4 separate regions of the Homo sapiens genome follow, and all the other regions are linked to region 1. The links are contacts of gene promoters, found by promoter capture Hi-C in blood cells and fetal thymus (Javierre and others, 2016). All regions are on one chromosome and are shown on one strand. Each heading gives the region's core, a stretch centred on a gene start or on the middle of the fragment in contact. The rest is flanking DNA. Distances are from core to core; before and after follow the strand shown.

What was found. Contacts are between HindIII fragments. The CHiCAGO score rates a contact against its expected background, and 5 or more counts as called.
Region 2: a contact is called between a fragment that was not itself captured here and the fragment with the promoter of SYBU in region 1, in 2 of 17 cell types (total B cells and naive B cells). The highest score is 8.8, in total B cells.
Region 3: a contact is called between a fragment that was not itself captured here and the fragment with the promoter of SYBU in region 1, in 1 of 17 cell types (naive B cells). The highest score is 5.4, in naive B cells.
Region 4: a contact is called between a fragment that was not itself captured here and the fragment with the promoter of SYBU in region 1, in 2 of 17 cell types (total B cells and naive B cells). The highest score is 5.9, in total B cells.

Annotation. Positions count from the first base shown.
Region 1 is chr8:109,643,466-109,646,721 of GRCh38, forward strand. It overlaps SYBU (syntabulin), which reads right to left and starts at 1,357. Exons shown (of 7, transcript NM_001099754.2): 1 at 1,171-1,357. The coding sequence starts at 1,194. SYBU-AS1 (SYBU antisense RNA 1) reads left to right here and starts at 664. Exons shown (of 2, transcript NR_161375.1): 1 at 664-757; 2 at 1,653-3,256. RefSeq lists a silencer at 1,122-1,611 and enhancers at 1,124-2,060, 1,722-2,041. The HindIII fragment of the contact is 4,274 bases long and covers 1-3,256 here.
Region 2 is chr8:109,472,294-109,475,491 of GRCh38, forward strand. PKHD1L1 (PKHD1 like 1) reads left to right here. Exons shown (of 78, transcript NM_177531.6): 51 at 2,825-2,976. Among named protein-coding and RNA genes, the nearest start is that of EBAG9UORF, 66 kb to the right of the region's middle. The HindIII fragment of the contact is 3,166 bases long and covers 40-3,198 here.
Region 3 is chr8:109,497,393-109,500,615 of GRCh38, forward strand. It overlaps PKHD1L1 (PKHD1 like 1), which reads left to right. Exons shown (of 78, transcript NM_177531.6): 66 at 1,070-1,181; 67 at 1,263-1,379. Among named protein-coding and RNA genes, the nearest start is that of EBAG9UORF, 41 kb to the right of the region's middle. The HindIII fragment of the contact is 6,056 bases long and covers 1-3,223 here.
Region 4 is chr8:109,421,124-109,424,085 of GRCh38, forward strand. The region is part of intron 23 of PKHD1L1 (PKHD1 like 1); the gene reads left to right. Among named protein-coding and RNA genes, the nearest start is that of PKHD1L1, 60 kb to the left of the region's middle. The HindIII fragment of the contact is 4,892 bases long and covers 1-2,962 here.

The DNA of each region.
Region 1 (3,256 bases), core at 107-2,606:
GACAGGATCTTAATTATTCGTTAATATCCTGGTACACAAGGCTTGTTGCCAACAGAAAAGCAAACACAAATCCGATACTCGGGAAGATGGCTCCACCTTTTACATCATCTTTAATTTTTGTTTTCCTTACAGGACATCCATAAGAAGAGATTTTTCTTTCTCCTTAAAAACGCAGCATGAAGTACCCTGCCATTTCGTGGTTTTAAAAATGCGTAACAGTAATATTTTCACAATGTTTTCCAACTTATAAAGTGCTTTTCCAACCATTTTCTCATTTGATCTTTACACACCAGACTGTACATAGAGAGCACACCAATGAATGTCCCTATTTTCAGATGAGGAAACAGGCTAAATGGGGTAGAGATGCTTAGGCAATTCTGCACACCATGCCAGAAGTAGAACGAAATTCAAATCCAGTGCTTTGCAGGGTCACCACCACCCTGCCTTATGAAAATGGATTCCTAGGAGGAGCGTTTTGCAAAAATTCCACTGCTTCCTCCAACCTCTGCCACTGAAAGGGACTCTTTGGCTTAGGTAACAAACACCCTTTCGAAACATGACCTACTGTTCCTTCCACCGGCTTACCAGGAAGGGTCACGGCCAAAATAAACACCTCTGGGAGGCCGGCACATGGCATAAATTGAAGGGTAAACCTCAGCAATGGGGAACTTCGGAGGGCCCTCAGGCATCCACTCTACCCGGGGGCCGCCAGCCGCACGCAGCCTCGGATTCGCCCTGCACATCTGCCGCCCAGCAGGTACCATGCGCCAGCCACTCCGCCGGGCACACCGCAGACCCTGAGCTAAGGCAGGGTCACTGACACGCGGGAGTCCTCTTTTCCCAGTCGCGGATGCATCAAATTCCTTTCATTCACATCACACACACAGGATATCAACTGAAAGCTACACCCCACAGTCCCAGTTTCAGGAGGTGGGATTAACCCTCCAATCATGTCATTCTCCAAAATCTATTCCTCCAGTACCACCTCCCCATCTCCTGGATCTCAACTCCTAAGCAATGCCTCCTGCCTTCTCCAGACCCCACCACCACCTCCTTCCACCTTTCCCCAGACTCTAAATGTCACCCCTCCAGCTCTCATCCCGCCGCTTCTCGCCCCGCAGTGCCCGCCTTCCCCGCCCTCCAGTGCCCGCACTGCCCCGCGCTCCTTACCTTGCTCTCGCGGAGGGGCCCCATCGCGCCGCTGCCCGCCGGCTCCTCGCGCCGCCGCTGCCGCCGTCCAGGAGGAGGCACCTGCGAGCACGGAGCGAGGAGACTGCGCTGAGCCGGCGCGGGCTGCGGGCGGCGGCTCTTGGTGAGGCTCCAACGCGCCGCCGCCGCCACTGCCGCCGATTGCTCTGGGCTCCGAGGGCACGCCCGACCCCGCCCCGGCCGGACACGTGGTGCCGCACTCGCTAGAGGCAGCTCCTGGGGCGCCTCCCACGCCCTCCCTCACCTGCGGCCTTCGGGGCAACTCGACCGCGCCTGGGCGCGCCCCACCCGCCCGATTTCCCCACGGCACTCCGCGCCCCCCCAGCCAGAGCCGGTGTCCCTCCCTCTCCAAGGAGCTCGGCCCGGTGTAGGCAGGCTGCGGCTAGCGGCATCTCCAGCCCAGGGGTGACCCCACCCTCTTTTTTTTTTGCACTTGATCTCAGGTTTGAAGTGGGTGGCGTTGGATGGAGTGACTGAGAAAAGCTGCGACATCACAGAGAGACAAAATAGAGAAAGTTTTCCCCTGGCCACCCCTCCTTGGCCTCCAGGTCTTAAGTCAGCCTACAGCTCCCCACAACTGCCTCGCCCGAGAGCTGCAGAGATCCCTCTCGTACCGGAGCCCAGCCAAGCCAGTGCGTCAGGACCGACACAGCCTCTGGGTTCCGGGATCTGAAAGGCTGCGATGGATTCTACTTGGAAGGGGTTGCATCAGAAAGGCCTTCAGTGGTCAGCGCAGCTCCCTCCGGCTTGGAGAAGCCAGGCTGCTATGTAGCCAGAGAACAGTCTTTTCCCCAGCGCTGCCCTGCAGCTGCCCGGCTCCAGGAAGTAGCTCCAGCACACTGCTAAGGGAAGAGCACTGGAATTGAACTCAGAAAAACGAGTTCAAGCCAGCACTCCAATCGGTCCCTTCAGCCTGAGTGCCTTTATGCCTAAAGTTTTTGTTGTTGTTTCGTTTTTTGTTTTTTTTTTTTTCCGTTGCTGTTGAAACGGCATCTCGTTCTGTGGCCCAGGCTGTAGTACAGTGGCGCGATCAGGGCTCACTGCAACCTCTAACTCCTGGGATCAAGGGATCATCCCGTCCAGGCCTCTCAAAGTGCTCGAATTACATGCGGATGCCATTGCATGCGTGGCCTACGCCTACGGTTCTTGACCCTTCTGAACTTCAAATTTACCCTTGTTAAATTGAGGGATAATAATAGTGATACCTACCTCTAGGATAGCTGTGAGGGTTAGGTGAGGAAAACAAACAGCTCTATCCAGCTGATTGAACAGAACTTTCCAAAGGGCAGCTAAGTCAGGTCCAGATGATCCAGTCAATATTTGTTGATGCCTTTTACATGACAGGCAGAAAAAGCATTTGTGATGCACACAAATTTGTTTAAGAAAGCTCGAAAATCTGTCCAACTGGGGACTTAGAATAGGGTACATCAGCTGGGCCAAGGGCCTTGATTTATTACAATTGCTACCCTTAAATCTTATCTGGTGGTGGAATTCACCATGTATAATGACTTATATACCCTTTATTCAGAATTGGAGAATATTCCAAGCAGTGCGACACTCTGATCCTTATGCACCAGTGTCCTACATAGGAGGACTGTGCTCCTCGAAAACTGAGGGTCATTGTCCCCTTTCATCCATCCTCCAAACAGCATTTCTGAGTCCTCAACTCTCAAGCCTAAGAATATATGTTGTGAGTCTAGAGAGAGCCTGAAGCCAGAGGATTAGTGGAATCAATTTCCCTTCTTCCTATAACTCCAAAAGAGAGCTTCCTCCATAAATCTTCATGCCTTTTCAATCTACTTAGCTCTCTCAAGCAGTGAGGTTGGTAATTTTAAGATTCTTTATTTGGGAAGAAGAGGTGATTAATTCATACTTTCTACACCCACAGCTGTTTCAAATATGGACCTCAGGAAAGTGATGGTCCAGGATGATTCATACAACTTATTATTCCTAAAATTATGAGCCTGGGATCATATACTGTGAGATAAGAACAAACTTTTAAAGTTAATGGATGCTTCTGAGTTCCCTACTTAGAATTGAGAATTGA
Region 2 (3,198 bases), core at 373-2,872, 170 kb before region 1:
AAGCACTAATATTCAAACATCTAAGCTTTCAAATCTCTAAGCTTTCTTTTTGTGGTTATTTTTAGTGGTGGTGAGGATTTTAGAAAGGAGCTTTTGTTTGCTTATTTGTCTATATTCTGGTTTTTTGATTCAGGGAATCTGGTATTTCTGAATTTATAACATTTTAGCTTTCTTGTCACGTTTCTCTGCACCCTTTCATCTATTCCCTTCAAGAATTAAGATTTTTTATTGAGTTACTAAACTGTGAATACCTAGAGGGCCAGATCTACAAACTTATCTTTCTGACGCCGCAAGGCTCAACGCAGGACATTGCAAATAGTAACTACTCAGCAAGTGTTGAATTAAATGGAATTAGTTGCAATACTCAGACCACATTGCAAATTAGAGAAAACACTATGCTAGGCATTTTACTTCTGTGTGTGAAAAAAAAAAATCAACTGTATAGTAAAGTACATTTGGCTACTTTGATCTCCATTAAAGTCAAATAAAATTATTTACTTCTAAAAGTTAAAAACAGAAAAAGATAACTTGTCCTGATTGTATATGTATGCTGAGTGAAACAAAAGTTTAAAAAGTATACTAGATTAGTGGGAAGTAAGGGTTTGCTATAATTTTACACACGTCCATATATATCTTTATCAAAGCATCTCATGCATGATGGTATATCTTTATGTAAATATATGTATAAAGTTATACCAGATGGCAAATTAATTTGAGACACTAACTCTTAATGATCCTATTTTTAGAAAATATCAACTTCAAAGAGTTTATATTTCAGTCCAAGACACTTAAAACCAACATACTTGAAATGAGTGCAGCTTAAAAAATTAGGAAAAACACAACTTAAAAAAATGGAAATTTGTTTCACTTGTGAAACTGAATTATTAAGAAATGTCAGGTTAAATGCAATCCCAAGCATCAGAAAACTTCACTGGAGGCTGGGTGCGGTGGCTCATGCCTGTAATCCTAGCCCTTTGGGGGGCAAAGGTGGGCAGATCACTTGAGGTCAAGAGTTCGAAAGCAGCCTGGCCAACATAGGTGAAACCCTGCCTCTACTAAAACTACCAGAAAAATTAGCCAGGTGTGGTGGCACATGCCTGTAATCCCAGCTACTTGGGAGGTTGAGGCAGGAGAATTGCTTGAATCCAGGAGGCAGAGTTTGCAGTGAGCCGAGATCATACCACTGGACTCCAGCCTGGGTGACAGTTAGAGACTCCATCTCAAGAAAAAAAAAAAAGAAAAGAAAAAGAAAGAAAAGAACTCAATTCAGTGGAATTCCACTTAATTGAGTTCTGCAAATCCAGGAGCAAATTCTAGAGGTTTTGGATGATTTTAATCAGCTCTTCTATGTTAACCATTGCTTCACAACAGACTATCTCAAAACTCAATAGCTTAAGCCTACAATCATTTATTCTTAGGTGTCCACAGGCTAGGTTGATTGATCTAGGCTGGGCTCTGCTGGAAGTCTCTGCTTCAATATAAGGCTTTGCTTCTCCCCAAGGGCTGAGCTCAGGTAACTCCACATGTACTCGTTCCAGGTGTCAGGCAAAGGGAGAGCAGTTACCTGGAGGAGGCTCTTCTCTTTGTGAAGATAGAGGCTTAAGAAGTCAAACCTCACTGAGCAAGCACTTTTCAAGCATTTACTAGTGTCAGTTCCACTAATGTCCCATTGGCCAAGATCAATGAAGCAGGGAAGTCTACTTTGCCCTCAAGGAGAAGAAAGGAGTGGATATTTGCTGAACAATAATCCAACTAGTCACAGTTCTTTTCATACTTTACGGGATTTTCTGGTAGTGAAAGTTTTTGGTGTCTCTGGTCATGAATCTTTTAAAATTAATACTAACTCATAAAGCATAGAAAATCATGAATTTTTTCTCTCATGGCTTTGGAATTTTGTTGGGCCTTATTTCAGACAGATTATTTTATAATCTTGCTTCTAGCTTCTTCCTCCTAAATTTTTAAAATAAGAGGTTGTTACTTTAATATAAAATCCAATCTGAGATGAAAAGTAAAGGAAGGGGGAGAAAAATAGAGGCAGTTAATGAAAGACCTTTCCTTTATATTGTAAGAGAACTTTTCAAATCTTCTATTAAAGCTATCAGGCATTCTCTTGTGACCAAAGCATTACTAAATTATATAGTTTTTCCTGTAACAGGTAGTTCAGGTTCAAGGTTTGTATTCCTAAAATGTATATATCTTCATCAGTGTTAAGTTATAGGTCTAGTTGTAGCCTTGTTCTTTAATAATTCTAAATCAAAACACCATTAAAGTCAAACAAAATTATTTACTAGTAAACATTAATATGTGTTGTACAGATTTTAATTAGCTCAACAGACATAGAAAACTCTAATAAAGAATCAGAGCTTATGTTTTTATATATTCTACATCAAGGATTCTGAATAACTAAGTTCTTAAAGAATAAAAATGAAATTATGTTTAGATCAATGACCTTTAAATAATTATATTAATATATTTAGGCACTTTCGTTTTAGCAGTTGTAATTTCACAATGTTTCAAGTGTATCTTTCCCTAAGGAATAAAGGCTCCATCTCAATTCAAAATTCCAGGTTTGAAAGCATTTTACTTTCCAGTTAAATATAATATTAATCATTTCAGTTCTTCAGTCAAACGAAGACATTTAGAACATAAGTAATGAAATGCCATATTAATCTTTTTAAAGACTGTCATAGACTAAACCAATATTTGCTAAACCAACATTTGCTAAACCAACCAAACTAAACTAACTTTTGCACTTGTTTACAAAAGGAGGAGTTTATTAGAGGTAGAGATTACTATTATTTTCTTGTTCTATGTTCTCCTATAGGCACAAGCATTATTCCATTTCAGAAGAAACGACTGACTCATATGTCTGGATGGATGGCTCTGATTCCAAATGCAAATCACATTAACTGGTATTTTAAAGGTGTGGATCACATAACCAACATTTCATATACATCGACATTCTATGGATTCAAGGTAAAAATATTTATCTTCTAATGATTATAATTGTGTATTACCCAAACACAGCCTACATCCTCATACTTACTCACAGACATTGTCAGGCCAGAGGGACTTTCATCACAAATTGAGCTATTGAAATCCTGCACATTCTTTGTGAGCCACTCTGAATCTAAGAAGTAAGCCAAAAAAATCTCATTTGAGAATCAGAAGTAAGCAATCTTTCTGCCACATTGCTGT
Region 3 (3,223 bases), core at 592-3,091, 150 kb before region 1:
GCCTTTGTTCCCACTGCCCTCTGCCTAAAAAACCGTTCTTTTTTTTTTTTTTTTTTTTGAGATGGAGTCTCGCTCCGTAGCCCAGGCTGGAGTGCAGTGGCACAATTTCGGCTCACTGCAAACTCTGCCTCCCGGGTTCACATCCTGCCTCAGCCTCCCGAGTAGCTAGGACTACAGGTGCCCGCCACCACGCCTGGCTAATTTTTTATATTTTTAGTAGAGATGGGGTTTCACTGTGTTAGCCAGGATGGTCTTGATCTCCTGACCTCGTGATCCGCCCACATCGGCCTCACAAAGTGCTGGGATTACAGGCGTGAGCCACCGCACCCAACAAAAAAGCTGTTCATTCTTATCTCTCCTCCTCCCTTCCCTCTTCTTGCTTATCACCTGCTAATCTTGAAATAGTTAAATTTTCACTCCCTCTATGAAGTTTTTTCTGAGCCAGTTTAGGTGGTAATGACACTTCCTCCACTTTTTTGTGCCTACTGTTCCCTGGATGTATTTATCACAGAAACATAACATGTCCTTATATGTAATTATTTACATGTCTGTCTTCCCTCTCCTATTCTTAGTGCTTTTCCAGTTGGGGTAGCAACCTTTTTCATCTTTGTTTAATGAATGATCCACTTTTTGAATTTATAGTTTGCATTTTATTTACTACAGTAGAATTTAGTACTATTCATTATCATGTTTTCTTTTTTTTTTTTTTTTTTTTTTTTTGAGACGGAGTCTCGCTCTGTCGCCCAGGCCGGACTGCGGACTGCAGTGGCGCAATCTCGGCTCACTGCAAGCTCCGCTTCCCGGGTTCACGCCATTCTCCTGCCTCAGCCTCCCGAGTAGCTGGGACTACAGGCGCCCGCCACCGCGCCCGGCTAATTTTTTGTATTTTTAGTAGAGACGGGGTTTCACCTTGTTAGCCAGGATGGTCTCGATCTCCTGACCTCATGATCCACCCGCCTCGGCCTCCCAAAGTGCTGGGATTACAGGCGTGAGCCACCGCGCCCGGCCCATGTTTTCTTTTAGTAAGAGCTATTATTAATGCTATATTGTTTGGCTTATTTCCAAACAGAGCTCATTAATTGTTGGAAGTAGCCCTGGGTTTAATTGCTCTGATGTCCTAACTAATGATGATCCTAATATTGAACTCACTGCTGCTCATCGGAGTCCTAGATCTCCATCAGGTGAAAAATTTGAAACTTTAATGTTGTTGTTCATATGAGTGCATATTCAATTTTCATTAACTTTTTCTTTTTTGGTAAAAGGTGGGAGAAGTGGGATTTGTTGGCCTACCTTTGCTTCAGCTCATAACATGGCACCCCGAAAGCCCCATGCAGGAATCATGAGTTACAATGCCATCAGTGGCCTTTTGGACATCTCAGGCAAGTACACAGTCTTTTACAAATCTTCTCAATTAATTTCTGTAAAGAATATGTAGAGGATAACTAATAATGTTTCATTGTTAGTAAAAATGATTTAAGTGAATTTTTATAGCAATCTGCTCAATATGACAAAGAAATCAGACATCAGAGTCAATTTTGAGAATGGTTTCTTGGCAGGATTCTTATACTGTATGTTGAAGAATTGATGTTAAATTTTCCTTCTAAAACAACAACAAAACACTGGCATTTGTGATTTAATATTAATTTGTATAATTTGTAAATGCCCTTTCATGTAAGTAGGATTATATATTATCATCCCTTTTTAAAATTGAAGAACCTTAAGCTCAAAGAACTTAGTGCCTGGCCAAATTCCCACAGCTATTGGCACAGCTAGGATTAGAATCAAAATCTTCTGATTCAAACTCCACTGCTCTTTCACTGAACCAGGATGGCTGCTTAGAAATGTAAAATAATTATATATAAATTAATGTAGTAAACACATCAATTATTTTCATTTGGCCTATTAAATAACACTGTGCATTTCCTGTTTTAATGGAGCAAGTGTCCCTTCCAGGATAATTTTAACCAGTGTCTCTGAAGAAAGTAGTTCAGTAAGTTAGACATCTAAGTTTTAACATATTCTTTCTCACAGCTTTAGATCCCAGAAATGTGAAACAAATTAGCAACACTTTTAAGTGTTAATTGCAATGCTCATACCCTTGGAGGAAATTGTATAACATGCTACATAGGTTGTAATTGAACATATATGGCTTTTAATAAATAATATGCTCCAGAATATTATAAATATCATGTGACAATGAAACTGCCCTTATGAAATGAAGCCTTAAGATTGAAATTTATTGAAAGAACATTAATAACTATTATTCTTTCATAAGATATAGTCTTTTAAAATAACATATAAAAGTTGGTTGACTGAGATTCACTAGAAACAGCCTTAGATGAGGACTTTCATATTAGTGGCTTCTTGGAACACCTAGTAGAAAGGGAAGGAAGAGAACAGGGCAAGGGAAGTTGCTAAGCAAGGATGTGATATGAGCTGAAGGGCAGCTATACTTGATGCCACTGGGAAACTCTAGAGTGTAAGTTAAAATTGCCACGGAGTTGATCCCACATCTGGTGAGGTGGGTAGGGGACGGAAGTCATTTGTATCCCCATGTTAGTTTTTGGTTACAGCTGCCCCTATGGGGAGGACCTTGATTTCCCGGGTATGTGGCTCCTTTTTGGCTAAGCTAATTGTCTGGGAAAAGGGAGATTTGTTAACAGCCAATATTCAAAGAGATGAGAGATGGGTGTACCAGCCTGTATCCACTTTAGTCCTCTCTTGGGACTACTGGGATCTACTTGCTTTCTTCATTGTTAGTTATATTAAGTTATATATGATTTCTCCAAGATTCTGCATGGTCACAATTTTTGGGAAAAACTTTAAGAAGAGGTTTGGTGGTCACCCTGCCATAGCTGGTCCCTAAACCATAAATGATACTCATCATCTCTCTCATCCATCACCCTTTCTAAATTTCTGTCTTCCTTGGTTAACACTTCTGCTTGTCAAGATGGCTTGCCTGGTAGAATGGCTCAGACCCTCATTCCTGTTATAAATAGGCCCCTGGTCCATGGTGGCTCATGCCTGTAATCCCAGCACTTTGGAAGGCCAAGGTGGATGAATCATGAGGTCAGGAGTTCAAGACCAGTTTGGCCAACATGGTGAAACCCCGACTCTACTAAAAATACAAAAAAAAAAAAAAAAAAACCTAGCTGGGCATAATCCCAGCTACTTGTAAGGCTGAGGCAGGAGAATTGCTTGAAACTGGGAGGCGGAGGTTGCA
Region 4 (2,962 bases), core at 391-2,890, 220 kb before region 1:
CTGAACAATTTTTTGTACATTTGTAATAAGATTAATATTAAATATTACAAATATAATGAAAAATTTAAAATTAAATTTCTATAAAAATATTCAATGAGTTAATATAATTTCCTACCACAAACCAAAAACAAGTATAATAAGCTCAAGATTAAAGATTAAATAATCATTAACCATTGTAATTGGATTAGAGCCTCACAGAAAATTTTTGCAAAGTAAACAATTTTATGATTAAAATTACTGAAAAATTATAAAAACTCCAAAAAAATTGCCTTTATCCCATCCTGGCCCAATGTTTTAGTCTTAATATCTTCCAGATTAGCATCTTACAAATGCTTTTCAGTGCTTTACTCTTAGCTCTATTAGAAAATATAATAACTGGCCGGGCGCGGTGGCTCACGCCTATAATACCAGCACTTTGGGAGGCCGAGACGGGCGGATCATGAGGTCAGAAGATCGAGACCATCCGGGCTAACATGGTGAAACCCCATCTCCACTAAAAAATACAAAAAAATTAGCCGGGCGTGGTGGCGGGGGCCTGTAGTCCCAGCTCCTTCCGAGGCTGAGGCAGGAGAATGGCGTGAACCCGGGAGGCGGAGCTTGCAGTGAGCGGAGATCGCGCCACTGCACTTCAGCCTCGGCGACAGAGCGAGACTCTGTCTCAAAAAAAAGAAAATATAATAACTAATTCAAGGCTCTGTATTCTCAAAGCATCTGTGTCAAAATTCTCCCATTTTTCAAGATTCCTCAATAAACTAATTGGTAACTGTAACCTCTATCTTTAATTATTCATCAAAGTTTACACTGAAGAATACAGGACTTAGATTTTTGTGACCTTTTAAAAAAATTCAAGTGATAGGTACATGTAATAAATAATATGCACATATGTTAAATGTATAGATCAATAAATTGTTTTAAGAACTTTAACTTTGACATAATTGTAGATTCACATGCAGTTGTAAGAAATAGCACAGAACTATTTTTATATCCTTTACCCATTTTCCCCCAATGATAATTTTTTTGTATAATATAGCATAATATCATAACCAGGAAATTGACATGATAAAATCCACTGACCTTATTCAGATTTTTCCAGGGTTGTGTGTGTGTGTGTGCGTGTTTGTGTAGTTCTTACACAATTTTATCATAGGTGTAGATTCATCTGACCACCACCAGAACAGTTCTATTACGAGCGTCTCTTGTGCTACCTTTTTGTAGCCATGCTGTCACAGCCATCTCCCTCGTTCCATTCCTCCTGCACTCACTTATATATGGCAACCACAAATTCATTCTCTCAATAATTTTGTCGTTTCAAGAATGCTACAAAAATGGAATCAGATGTCATATAATCACACAAATACATAGCTTTTGTATACTGGCATTTTTTTAACTCAGCATAATTCCCTTGAGATCCATTCAAATTGTGTTGATCGATTTATTCATTTTAATTGCTGAGTATATTTACTGTTATGGATGTACCAGTTTGTTTACTCACCCGTTGAAGGACATTTGAGTTGTTTCTTGGTTTTGGCTATTATGAATTAAACCGCTATGAACATTCATCTGTAGGCTTTTGTGAGACATAAGTTTCCATTTTTTCTCGGTTAAATTCCCAACAGTGCAATTATAGGGTTGTATGGTAAGAACATGTATAGTTTTTAAAGAAACTACCATATTTTTTTTCTGAAGTGGTTGTACCATTTTAGATTCCCACCAGCAGTGTACGATCCAGTTTCTGCACAATCTTGCCAGTGTTTGGTGATGTCACTATTTTTAATTTTAGGCGTTCTGGTAGGGTGTGTAACGATGGTTCATTTTCATTTTAATTGATATTTCCTAATGGCTAATGATGTTGAACATCTTTTTATGAACTTATTTGCCACCTACATATCTTCTACTGTGAAATGTCTAGGTATAATTCTTTTGTCAGATATATGGTTTGCAAATATTTTCTCCCAGACTGTACCTCACCTTTTCATCTTCTTCATAAGGTCTTTGACAGAACAAAGTTTTAAAAATTTTATGAGGCCAAATTTATCACTTTTTTTTTTCTTTTTTGAACGGTGCTTTTGGTTTCAAGTCTAAGAACTTACTTAGCTCTAGGTCCTGAGGATTTTTCTTTTTCTAAAAATCCTACAGATTTACATTTTATATTTAAGGGCATGATCCATTTTGTGTTAATTTTTACATGTAAGATGTGATTTTTCGTTGAGGTTCATTTGTTTGCCTATGCCTCCAATTGTTTCAGCAACATTATTGAAAAGGCTATCTTTCTTCCATTTAATTACATTGGAACCTTTGTCAAAAATCATATTTGTGTGGGCATATTTCTGAGTTTTCTATTCTTTCCATTGGTCTATGTGTCAGTCCTTCCACCAATACCACACATTCTTGACTATTGTATCTGAATAGTTAGACTTAACATTGAGTAGAGTGATTCTTCTTACTTTATTTTTCTTGTGCAAAATTGTTTTAGCTATTCTAGGTCCTGTGCCTTCCCATATAAATTTTAAAATAAGATTATTTATGTCTACAAAAAAACCTTGCTGGTATTTTGACAATAATTACATTAAATCTATAGACTGTTTTGGAGAGAATTGACACCATTGTGATATTGAGTCTTCCAATCCATGAACACAGTATGTCTCTCCAATTATTTGTCCTCTTCGTGCTTTACCAGCATATTTAGATCTTCATTTATTACATTTATCGGCATTTTGCAATTTTCAGTTCAGGTCTAGTACATGTTTTGTGAGATTTATAAACGTGTTTCATTTTCTTCGAGCAGTTGTAAATGGTCTTGTGTTTTTAAATTCGATTTCCACATGCTCGTTATTTGTATATAGAAATGTAATTGATTTTTGTGTCTTTATCTTGTATCTTATAACCTACTGAATTCAACACATTTTTACAAAGTAGATACACTCATGTAATCACACCCAAATGAAGATAATCATTAGCTCCC